3 separate regions of the Homo sapiens genome follow, and regions 1 and 3 are each linked to region 2. The links are contacts of gene promoters, found by promoter capture Hi-C in blood cells and fetal thymus (Javierre and others, 2016). All regions are on one chromosome and are shown on one strand. The core of a region is centred on a gene start or on the middle of the fragment in contact, and the rest is flanking DNA. Distances in the headings are between cores, read along the strand shown.

Region 1 (3,364 bases), core at 278-2,777, 320 kb before region 2:
TTTCTTCCCTCCCACAAACAAAGTGAACAAAGGCTCAGTGACTTGCAGTGCAATATCAAAAGGTCTAACATAAGTGGAATTAGAATGCCAGAAGGCAAGGATAAGTAAAAAGGTGCAAATGTATACCTGAAAATATAATGGCCAAAATTTTCCATCTTTAGCAAAAGATGCAACTCTACAAATCTGTAACTTCAGTAAATACTAGGAAATGTAGATACAAATAAAACTAAATCCAGACACATCAAAGTCAATCTTCAGAAAACCAAATATAGTAAAATTTTCAAAGCAACCAGAAAAAGATAACACATTATATACAGGGGAACAAAAATACAAAGGAAAGCTGACTTCTCATCAGAAACGATGGAGATGATTTTGCTGAGAGAGAGCATTAAAAAAAGAGAGAGAAAAATAAAGGAGAGAGGTCAGAAGTGGAACGATATCTTGAAAGTACCGAAAGAAAAAAAAAACAGAACTATATCCAGCAAAAATATCCTTCCAGAATAAAGGTAAACTAAAATCATTTTTTATAATAACCTGAGATAATCAGTCACCAGCAGACATACACTGGAAGATATCCGAAAGCAGGGATTGGCTAACATTTTCTGTAAAAGGGCGAAGAGTAAATATTTTAGGCTTTGCAGTCTCTGTCACAACTGCACAATTCTACTACTACGGTGCAAAAGCAGTCATTAAAAACCATAAACAAATGAGCAAAGCAGTGTTCCAATAAAGCTTTATTGATTAAAAACAGGTGGACCACATTTGGCCCATAGGCTTCCAAAGTTTGCTGATCCCTGGGCTAAAGAAAATTCTGCAGCTAAAGGAAAGTGATACCACAAGTGGAAAGCTGAGTGTCCAGAAAAGAAAAAAGAACTGTAGATATCATATTAATATATACCTGGATAAATATAAAACACTGTTTTTCCCTCTTTACTTCCATAATATACATGAGACTGCTTAAAGCACAAAACCCTGTATTGTAGGGCTTATAACATGTAAATACAGTAACATGACAACTGTAGCATAAAAGACTACAAGTGCTTACATTTTACATAAGGTAGTACAATAGAAAGGATGTGTATTGTGACTCCAAAATCACCTCTAAGAAATAAAATAGTGCAAAAACAAATAGTTAAAGACCCCAAAGAAATGTTATGATAGTTTTTAAAAATTTATTAATATATAACAGATGGACCTATTTGGGGAGTACATGTGACATTTTGATACAATCATATATAATCTATAATTATCAAATCAAGGTAATTGGGATGCCCACCACTTTAAACATTTATCTTTTCTTTATGTTGGGAACATTTGAATTATTATCTTCTAGCTATTCTGAAATATACAGTAGATTACTGTTTACTATCAACCTACTGAATTGTACAACATTAGGTCTTATTTCTTCTATATAACTGTATTTTTGTACCCATTAACCAATCTCACTTCATCCCCTCCTACCCTGGTACCCTTCTCAGCCTCTGACAACCGAAGACTATTCAGCCATAGAAAAGAATGAAATCCTGTCATCTGCAGCAACATGGACAGAACTGGAGGTCATTATGTTAAGTAAAATGAAATTTTTTAAAGGATGCACTTAACCCAAGAGAAAGCAAAAATGGAAGATAGAAGAACAAAAAACAGATAAGCAAACAGAAAACAAAGAGTAAAATGGTAGGCCTAAATCCAATCATATCAATAGTTATTGTAAATGCCAGTGAACTAGATACTCCAGTTAAGAGGCAGAAATTATTTGAATAGATAAAAGTTTAAGACCCAAGGATGTGTTGCCTAAAAGAGACAAACTAAATATGACACAGGTAAGTTGAAACTAAGAAGGAAAAAGATATAGCATGCAACCATAAGCGTAAGAATGCTGGAGTGATATTAACTTCAAATAAAGTAAACAAAGAGCATTACCAGTGATAAAGAAGGATATTTCACAATGATACAAAGTCCAGTTCATCAGGAAAATGTAGCATTCATTGTGTTTTAATTACAGAGCTTCAAAATTCATGAAACAAAAATTGACAAAACTGCAGGAAGAAATAGACAAATCCACAATAATAGCTAGAGATTTTAACAGCTCTCTCAGCAATTGATAGAACCACTAAACAAAAAAATCAGTACATAGAAGATCTAAATAACACTGTCAACCACCCTGACCTAAATGACACAGAACACAACTCCACTGGCAAAATATGCATTCTTTTAAGTGCACTTGGTACATCCACTATGACAGACTATAAGACAAGCCATAAAATGAGTCCCAAATTTCAAAGGATTGAAATCTTACAGAATATGTTCTTAACCGTAATGGAATTAAGCTTAAAAAGACCAGTAACTTTCTAATTTCTATTTGGAAATTTAACAATGCACTCCTATGTAATCCATAGTCAAAGAAGAAATCATGATATATGACACTAATATTATTACATGCTTGTCTCCTTTACTAAAGTGTGAGATCCTAGTAAATAGGACATACTAGATATCACAGATTATTTATAATTCTTCTCTTAACCCCCAGTTCCTTGTATAACTACTTCTACAAACTATTCTGTTTCAGAACACCTGTTATTTCTTTCTAAACAAATTATTTTCTGAGAGGGGAGGTGTAAATCTGTTAACCTCTTACTTATAAAACTCTTCCCCTCTTCCTTTCCTTTTGTGAGATTTCACTTATTTCTCTACTAAACTTTCGATGGTCTTTCCCAGTTACTTTTCCTATTACCTATCCTCTCCTCTAACTTTAGAAACATATCAAAGCTCTTTTGTTTATATGGTTTTGTTAATTTCATTACATGTATTTGTTGACCAGAGAATTAAACTCCATCTTTAAGATATTGTCGGCTGGACTTGATGGCTCACACCTATAATTCCAGCACTTTGGGAGGCCAAGGCAGGCGGATCACCTGAAGGCAGGGGTTCTAGACCAGCCTGGCCAACACAGTGAAACCCCACCTGTACTAAAAATACAAAAATTAGCCAGGCGTGGTGCTGCATGCCTGTAATCACAGCTACTCAGAAGGCTGAGGCAGGAGAATCACTTGAACACAGGAGGTAGAGGTTGCAGCGAGCCGAGATCATGCCACTGCATTCCAGCCTCGGTGACAGGGTGAGACTCCATCTCAAAAAAAAAAAAAAAAAAGACATTATCATAACTAATGGCTTCAACTATAACTTCAACACATTCAATAACTAATGTAGAACAACCCTATGGTATTCTTCTAAAACCAACTTCCCTCTAAATTGTCCAAGATAATGGCATTTCAAAGATTAGTCATTTTTGATTTTCCCTTTTTCGTCAACTTTGTCAAATCAATCATTAAGCCTTCTCTATTCTTCTTTAAATACATGTTCTCAT
Region 2 (3,521 bases), core at 771-3,270:
ACCCACCTCGGCCTCCCAAAGTGCTGGGATTACAGGTGTGAGCCACCGCGCCCGGCCCCAATGGTTCATTTTAAAGAAAATTTAGTCGTTCTGGGGCTACTTTATCAAAATTTATTTATCTTCAGTTTTCCTCTATTTCTGCAATTTTTCAACAACATTCATATTTTGCTTAAGTTTCACAGATTATCACCAATTTAAATATAAAAACAAAAACATCTCAATATAGAAAAAGCTTGAGTAAAAGATAAATCATGTATCTAAAGTTAGTACAAAAGGCCAGGCTCAGGCAGCTCCCACCTCTAATCTCTGTGCTTTGAGAGGCTGAGGCTGAAGGATCACTTGAGCCCAGGAGTTCAAAGCTGCAGTGAGCTAAGATCCTGCAACTGCACTCCAGCCTGGGCGACAGAGAGAGCCCTTGTCTCTAAAAATAATAACAAAAGAAAAAAGCAAACAAACAAAAAATAAAATAAAAATAAGTAGTTAGTACAACAAATTGTTTGATAAGCCTCCAAATAAATCTTTGAGTTGCCTCCCCTGCCTTTCAACTCATTAGAGTGAACATCTAATCCCTCTATTCAGAATGCTGCATGCCTTATGTTGCCACTAGTTCTCTTATCAAAATCAACTAGTTCTTCTCTTCAATCTGCTCTGAAATTTTAACTGCTCTGGAAAGCTCTCAATTGCACACCGTCCCTACTAACATTCCACGGATCTCTGGTATCCAATACCCAAAGCAACTAATGAGGAATTTGAAATTTTAATATGTTCCAGAAACCAGAGTTAAAAAATCAATAAACTCACGATGATAAGGGGAAAATTCTGAGGGTTTTCAAAACATAAAATCACCGCACTGTAAGATACATTAACTGGCAATCTTAAAATACCATTTTAGCGCCCTTAAACATTAAACCTTTGAACGCGTAAACAAAAGTTGCATGACCCAGTTTCATTACTGTTACTATTAATAATAATGGTACCTACCCAGTATCTCCCAATCCATGCAGGAAAATCACCTATAAGAGAAGAGGAAAATTAATAAGCAATGCCTAAATAAGCCCACACAGGATTGTTACACACTAGCTTTGCTTAAGGTGGAAAACGGAACGAAACCTACGAGAGAATTACACAACACTATCTTCGGCGACTTAATCTTTATCGACCTCTTTTAAATGGCAAAAATTCTGATCAACTTCTCCCTTTATTTCCTGAGATAATGAATGGGGGGGGGGTAGCACTGAGAGGTCCCAGTTAGACATTGAGTGCAAATGATCACATTCTAAGAAAAACAGTTTATCTCTTTCAAGTGAAATCAGGAACATCTCACATATCCTGTAGAATTTTTCCACTGCAAAAGCAAGCTTCCGGAGGCAAAAATAAGTTTGACTTTTCATACACGAGTTTTCTAAAAAACAGTACGTCTGACCTTGTAGGACACTCAATCTTCAAACTTCTTTCATTGAGGATAAGAGTGCGAGGTGACAATAAGGCGATTTCCTGGCGGACTTAGGTTTCCCTCACCCACACACCAGGCAGAAACACGCTGCAGAGGCTGACGCCGTGCCCTAGGCCGGCCCGCGGGGGTCCCGGGGCCACACTTCCTCCGCAATGCAGGGAGGAGCTGGGGACTGGCCCTCGCGCCGGCTGTGACCCCCCGGCTGCCCCCGCCCCCCGCGGACCCGGCCGCGCGGACCATTCGCACCCCACCCGGGCCGGGAGGAGCGTCCTCGTCCGCAGGCCGCCACGCGCCCGCAACGCCCACCCCGCGCGAGGGGCAACCACCGGTGGCCGGCCCAGTGGACCCCTCCGAGCCCACGCCTACGCCACTCACCGCAGCGGTGGCCTTCCGGGCGGCGGGCACGATGGCGGGCAGCGGGGTTGACATGTTATTGCCGCACATACACCGCCTCAGCTCACAGCGCAAGCGGAAGGAAGAGCGGGCGCCCGGCCGCGGCCCAAGGGCGTGCGAGCGGCGAGTCCCGGCCGGCCCCACCGGGCGCACGCTCAGGCGCGTGCGCGCCAACGCGGCCCCGCGCTACCTTCCGCGCGCGCCCGCGCGTCCAGGGTCCGCCCTGCCCTGCCCCTCGCCCGCCGCCCCTCCCTCGGCACCTCACAATGTCCGGGCGGCTCCCTCCCTCCGATTGGCTGCGGCGGCAGCGCGGACCTGGCTGCGCTTTCGCCACACCACGCAGCCTGCGCATGCTCAGTGCTGGCTAGGGAAAATGTGCTCTCAGGTGCAGGCTGAGGGCTGGTCTCTTGGGTCTTGGTTTAGGTTTTTGCTTTTCTGGCGCTGTAGTGAAAAGAATGAGCCCCAGAGCCAATTCACCCAACCCAACCCCAGGTGCTCCTTGGTTTCCTGCGGCCGGGGTCTATCCATTTGTAAAAGTCTGGATGGACTGGGAGACGTTGATGGAGCTTTTGCAGTATTTCCGTTTGGGGCTACAGCAGTATGTAGATTTGGGTTCAACTTACCTTCTTTAAACTTTAGTTGGAAAGGGTAACATTTGTCACCAGAAATCCACTACTTCCCTAACTTGATCGACAACACTTACTGATGTACGGATATTGACACAGTACAGGTTTAAGTGAGAGGTAAAGCCAGCTGGTCTTCTGGGTCGGTTGGGGACTTGGAGAACTTTTCTGTCTTACAAGAGGATTGTAAAATGTACCAACAGCACTCTGTAGCTAGGATTGTAAAATGCACCAATCAGCACTTTGTGGCTAGCTAGAGGTTTGTAAAATGCACCAATCAGTACCCTGTAAAACGGGCTAATCAGTGTTCTGTAAAGTGGACCAATCCGCAGGACTTGGGCCGGGACAAATAAGGAAATAAAAGCTGGCCACGCCCCCCATCCCCTAGCTGGCAGTGGCAGCCCTGGGTCCCCTTCCACACTGTGGAAAGTTTGTTCTTTCACTCTTCACAATAAATCTTGCTGCTGCTGCTCACTCTTTGGGTCTGTGGGACCTTTAAGAGCTGTAACACTCCCAGCACTTTGGGAGGCCGAGGCGGGTGGATCAGGAGGTCAGGTGATCGAGACCATCCTGCCTTAACACGGTGAGACCTCGTCTCTACTAAAAATACAAAAAAAAAAAATTGGCCGGTCGTGTAGTCCAAGCTACTTGGGAGGCTGAGGCAGGGGAATGGCGTGAACCTGAGAGGCAGAGCTTGTAGTGACCTGAGATCGCGTCACTGCACTCCAGCCTGGGAGACAGAGAGAGACCTTGTCTCAAAAAAAAAAAAAAAAAAAAAAAAAAACTGTAACACTCACCACGAAGGTGACAAGCTTTATTCTTGAAGTCAGCGAGACCATGAACCCACCGGAAGGAACCAACTCTGGACACATAAGCATGAGACTAGACTGCCCTTTTCTGCACAGGTGCCTTTATGGCCTAAAATGTAGTTACTCAACAAATGTGTTGCATATCAACTACATGGTAAGATCTGGAAGAGAGCACAAGATAGAAACACTTAAAGCCAAAATGCCCTGACCTTCAGAAGTTTACAATTCAGTGAAGGACATACT
Region 3 (3,621 bases), core at 914-3,413, 290 kb before region 2:
TAAATAAAAATGTTTCACTGGGTACAGTGGCTCACGCCTATAATCCCAACACTTTGGAAGGCCAAGGCGGGTAGATTGCCTGAGCTCAGGAGTTCAAGACCAGCCTGGACAACATAGCGAGACCTTGTCTCCACCAAAATACAAAAAAAATTAGCGGGGCATGGTGGCTCGTGCTTGTAGTCCCAGCTACTGGTGGGATGGGGGTCAGAGGTTGGTGGTGGTGGTTGGGCTGAGGCTGGAGGATCGCTTCAGCCTGGGAGGCAGAAGTTGCAGTGAGCTGAGATCGCACCACTGCACTCCAACCTGGGTGACAGAGTGAGACTCCATCTCAAAAAAAAAAAAAACAAAATGTTTGTAATGATCCACTTATAACTTAAAATGATGCTTCTGAGGCCATTTTAAAAAAGGTAAGACTGTTGAATCATGTTTATTTCACATTTTGCAGTGTAAAACTTGTTTTATACTGACATCAAGTGGCAATAATTTGTAATGCAGTTTACCAAACTGCTTTTCTCCACTCTGAAAAGATATGATTTAAAGATGTGATACTGATACCTTAAAAAGTCTGAGTAAGCAATGCAACTTGAGGAATGCCTAAAGATGCAATTCCAACTCAGCTGCCTCACAAGTAATTCTCTAAGCAATCCATTTCTTCAGAGTCTCTGTGTGACCTCGGGCATGTTGGTATGTTTTTCTGTTTGGTCTCACTACTCATCCATAAAATGCGGCTAATGATATGACCTACATTGAACAGGGAGTGTAAATATTCAAGGAGATGTAAATGTAAAATGAGTAAGCGTCAGGCACATAGTTAAGTGCTCAATGAATATTAGCTGCTATATTAAGATTCCCCTATGGAAATATAAGAATCAAAGGAAGGGCTGACACCCTACTCTCAACACATGGAGGTCTGCTTTTCAAGTAGACAGCCATCTAAAAAAGTAAGAACTTCAGGAAGAGTCCAAAAATATGTTCAGGGTTGAGAGTCACTAAAGGGAAGAAGGTAGGAAACCAAAGGCCATCTTTTCCTAACTCACAATCACTCCTGATGTGAATTCCATTTGGGATGTATATGAATCTACCAGGTAAATCACTTAGACCAACACACCACCAATTCAGTTAATTTTGTTTTTCTAATACACTGCACAGAAAATAGCAAAATAAGGATGTCATGTCAGCAGAGTTTGCATTTCCTTATTTAAGCTTTAATAACTTAAAATACTTTGACAACCACTTAAATAAGTTTGTAAGTCTAAAATAAGCTAAATAATTTTTCAAACTGGTAGAAATTCAAGACACATGAAATGAAGACTCTCAATTTAAGCAAAATAAAGATTCTCAATGTAAACATCTGCTTCTGATTGAGAAACGAGGCTTCTTACCTACCATTTCCTCAGCCCACCATGGCCCCAGGATCGCGTATCTAGTTCTATACCTTGTTCTGATTCCACTTCAGAAGGCTAATAGCCATTTTCTGGCCTAACATATGAGTCATCAAACACTTCAACCCATGCTCCAAGAGAAGCCCAGCTTCAAAATGGATTTTGCTGCCATCTATGGTCTTGGAACATACATACCCGTGACATTCATTCAGATTATGGGAGTACCAGCAACCAATATGGATATTAAATGGCTCCTACAGAGCTTCACTTGGGTCTATTGCAGGCAGGTTACAGAAACTACCCTCTAAAGATACTTCCTAGTTTCCTAGTGATACTTTCAACAAAGGAAGCTAGACACACTTCTGTTTCTGTCTCCGTTTTCCCTAACTTTCTATCAACTGGCTCTCATCATGAACATCGTTAACTTGTCCAAACTTACTTCCAGTTCCTGAGCTATTCCTAGAGCACAGCAAAGTTCAGCCATTCCCAAATGGAAAACGTAACTTTAGCCAAGAAAGGAACTTGGGGAGCCATAATTAATCTTAATTATGTAGATTATTTATGTATTTATGTAGAGCCTTTTGGCTCTACAAAAATGTGGAAAGAAGGCCTGGCGTGGTGGCTCATGCCTGTAATCCCAGCACTTTGGGAGGCCAAGGCAGGCGGATCACGAGGTCAAGAGATCGACACCATTCTGGCCAACTTGGTGAAACCTCATCTCTACTAAAAATACAAAAATTAGCTGGGTGTGGTGGCGGGCGCTTGTAGTCCCAGCTACTCGGGAGGCTGAGGCAGGAGAATTAATTGAACCTGGGAGGCAGAGGTTGCAGTGAGCTGAGATTGTGCCACTGCACTCCAGCCTGGGGGATAGAGCTAGACTGTGTCTCAAAAAATAAATAAATAAATAAAAGTAACTGAATTTCTTTCAAATGTTTGACGCTTTTGTTCACCTTTTGATTAGACAGATATTAGACAGTTTAATCAGATAACTGAAGTTTAAAGAGAAAACTTTATGATTATTTGCTCCAGTTGTGCTTCTGAATTCTGATTTTTGCTTTGTTTCTCAGGTCTGAAACAAAAGTCACCTGGAAAAAAGAGCAACGGGAAAGAACAAGTCTTATGTCTACCACAGAAAAGATGATCTCCACAGACCATCAATATTTATATATAGTTTATAATACAATTAACCTAACTGGAGGTGACCATGGATTTATAGTTGGGGAACTAGTAAACACCTTCAAAATTTTAAGTGTATATGACTCAAAATAATTTATTTTGGGGATGTTTAGGCCAGTGAAGGAATATACTTACATCACTTGAAGAGACTGTTCCTGTTTCAACAGCAACACCGCTACCACGCAGTTTCTATTACGAAATAAATAACTCATTATTTAGTTTTGTTTTGATTTTATCCTAATGTATCAGCTTACAAAAGGGAGCTAAGCAAACTTTTCCCCTAATTCTATGTAATAATTTTTCCCCTATAATTTTATTCCTAATCCTACTAAATAAAAAGCAAGGGGATGACATAAAATGTTCTAAATATCGTTACATTCTTCCAGATAATATATTAATCAGTAAGTAGCTAAAAATGGAACAATAATAAACTGACTACTAAGCTCCAGGTAAATTTCATGGGTAAAGCTAGTGCAAATTTCCAAGTCTTAAGATTTACTTACTGAATTGTTTTTCCAGTAAAATGACTGCCTTAAATTGAACTATCCACACTATATTCTGTAGCAAAGCTTTCAAAAATAGGTGCCTGATGTCAGGAAGGTACAATATGTGACTTGGTTATCCACAGCAAAGCTAATGAATTATAATGACAATCAAAATCTCAAATGTCATATAGAAATGACCAAAGAAAATTTAAAGAAAGTCAGAGGCTGAAAGTGCAAGAGAAAAGCAATAATGAATTTCTGAAAGGAAATGTTAACTTTGTATCATTCAATAACTACTATCTATGAAGTACAGGCATGAGTCCCCACAACCCAAGTGCAACGCTCCAAACTACCCAAAAAGGCTTCAAAGGCCACTATAAGGTCAAAGAACAAAACATCTAAACTTGCAGCTAACTTGGACTTTTGAAAGTTTATTTCTATTAGAATCATGAAATTGTGGTACTTTTTGTGAGAGAGAAAAACACTTGTGACAGAGAAAAAAGAGACACTCTAGATGTAGCACTATCGCATGACAATTGAGCAAAGTAGCAAGTAATATCACAAATAATTGTTACTTT

What was found. Contacts are between HindIII fragments. The CHiCAGO score rates a contact against its expected background, and 5 or more counts as called.
Region 1: a fragment that was not itself captured here is called in contact with the fragment with the promoter of LYPLA1 in region 2 in 1 of 17 cell types (non-activated CD4 T cells); the score reaches 6.1 in non-activated CD4 T cells.
Region 3: a fragment that was not itself captured here is called in contact with the fragment with the promoter of LYPLA1 in region 2 in 2 of 17 cell types (M2 macrophages and M0 macrophages); the score reaches 5.5 in M2 macrophages.

The regions. Positions count from the first base shown.
Region 1 is chr8:53,777,029-53,780,392 of GRCh38, forward strand. All of the region lies in intron 9 of ATP6V1H (ATPase H+ transporting V1 subunit H), which reads right to left. Among named protein-coding and RNA genes, the nearest start is that of ATP6V1H, 65 kb to the right of the region's middle. The HindIII fragment of the contact is 1,595 bases long and covers 731-2,325 here.
Region 2 is chr8:54,099,927-54,103,447 of GRCh38, forward strand. LYPLA1 (lysophospholipase 1) reads right to left here and starts at 2,021. Exons shown (of 9, transcript NM_006330.4): 1 at 1,829-2,021; 2 at 982-1,013. The coding sequence starts at 1,897. LYPLA1-TCEA1 (LYPLA1-TCEA1 readthrough) reads right to left here and starts at 2,021. Exons shown (of 21, transcript NM_001425842.1): 1 at 1,829-2,021; 2 at 982-1,013. RefSeq lists a silencer at 1,575-2,144. The HindIII fragment of the contact is 1,923 bases long and covers 1,357-3,279 here.
Region 3 is chr8:53,808,471-53,812,091 of GRCh38, forward strand. ATP6V1H (ATPase H+ transporting V1 subunit H) reads right to left here. Exons shown (of 14, transcript NM_015941.4): 7 at 2,694-2,747. Among named protein-coding and RNA genes, the nearest start is that of ATP6V1H, 33 kb to the right of the region's middle. The HindIII fragment of the contact is 1,924 bases long and covers 1,202-3,125 here.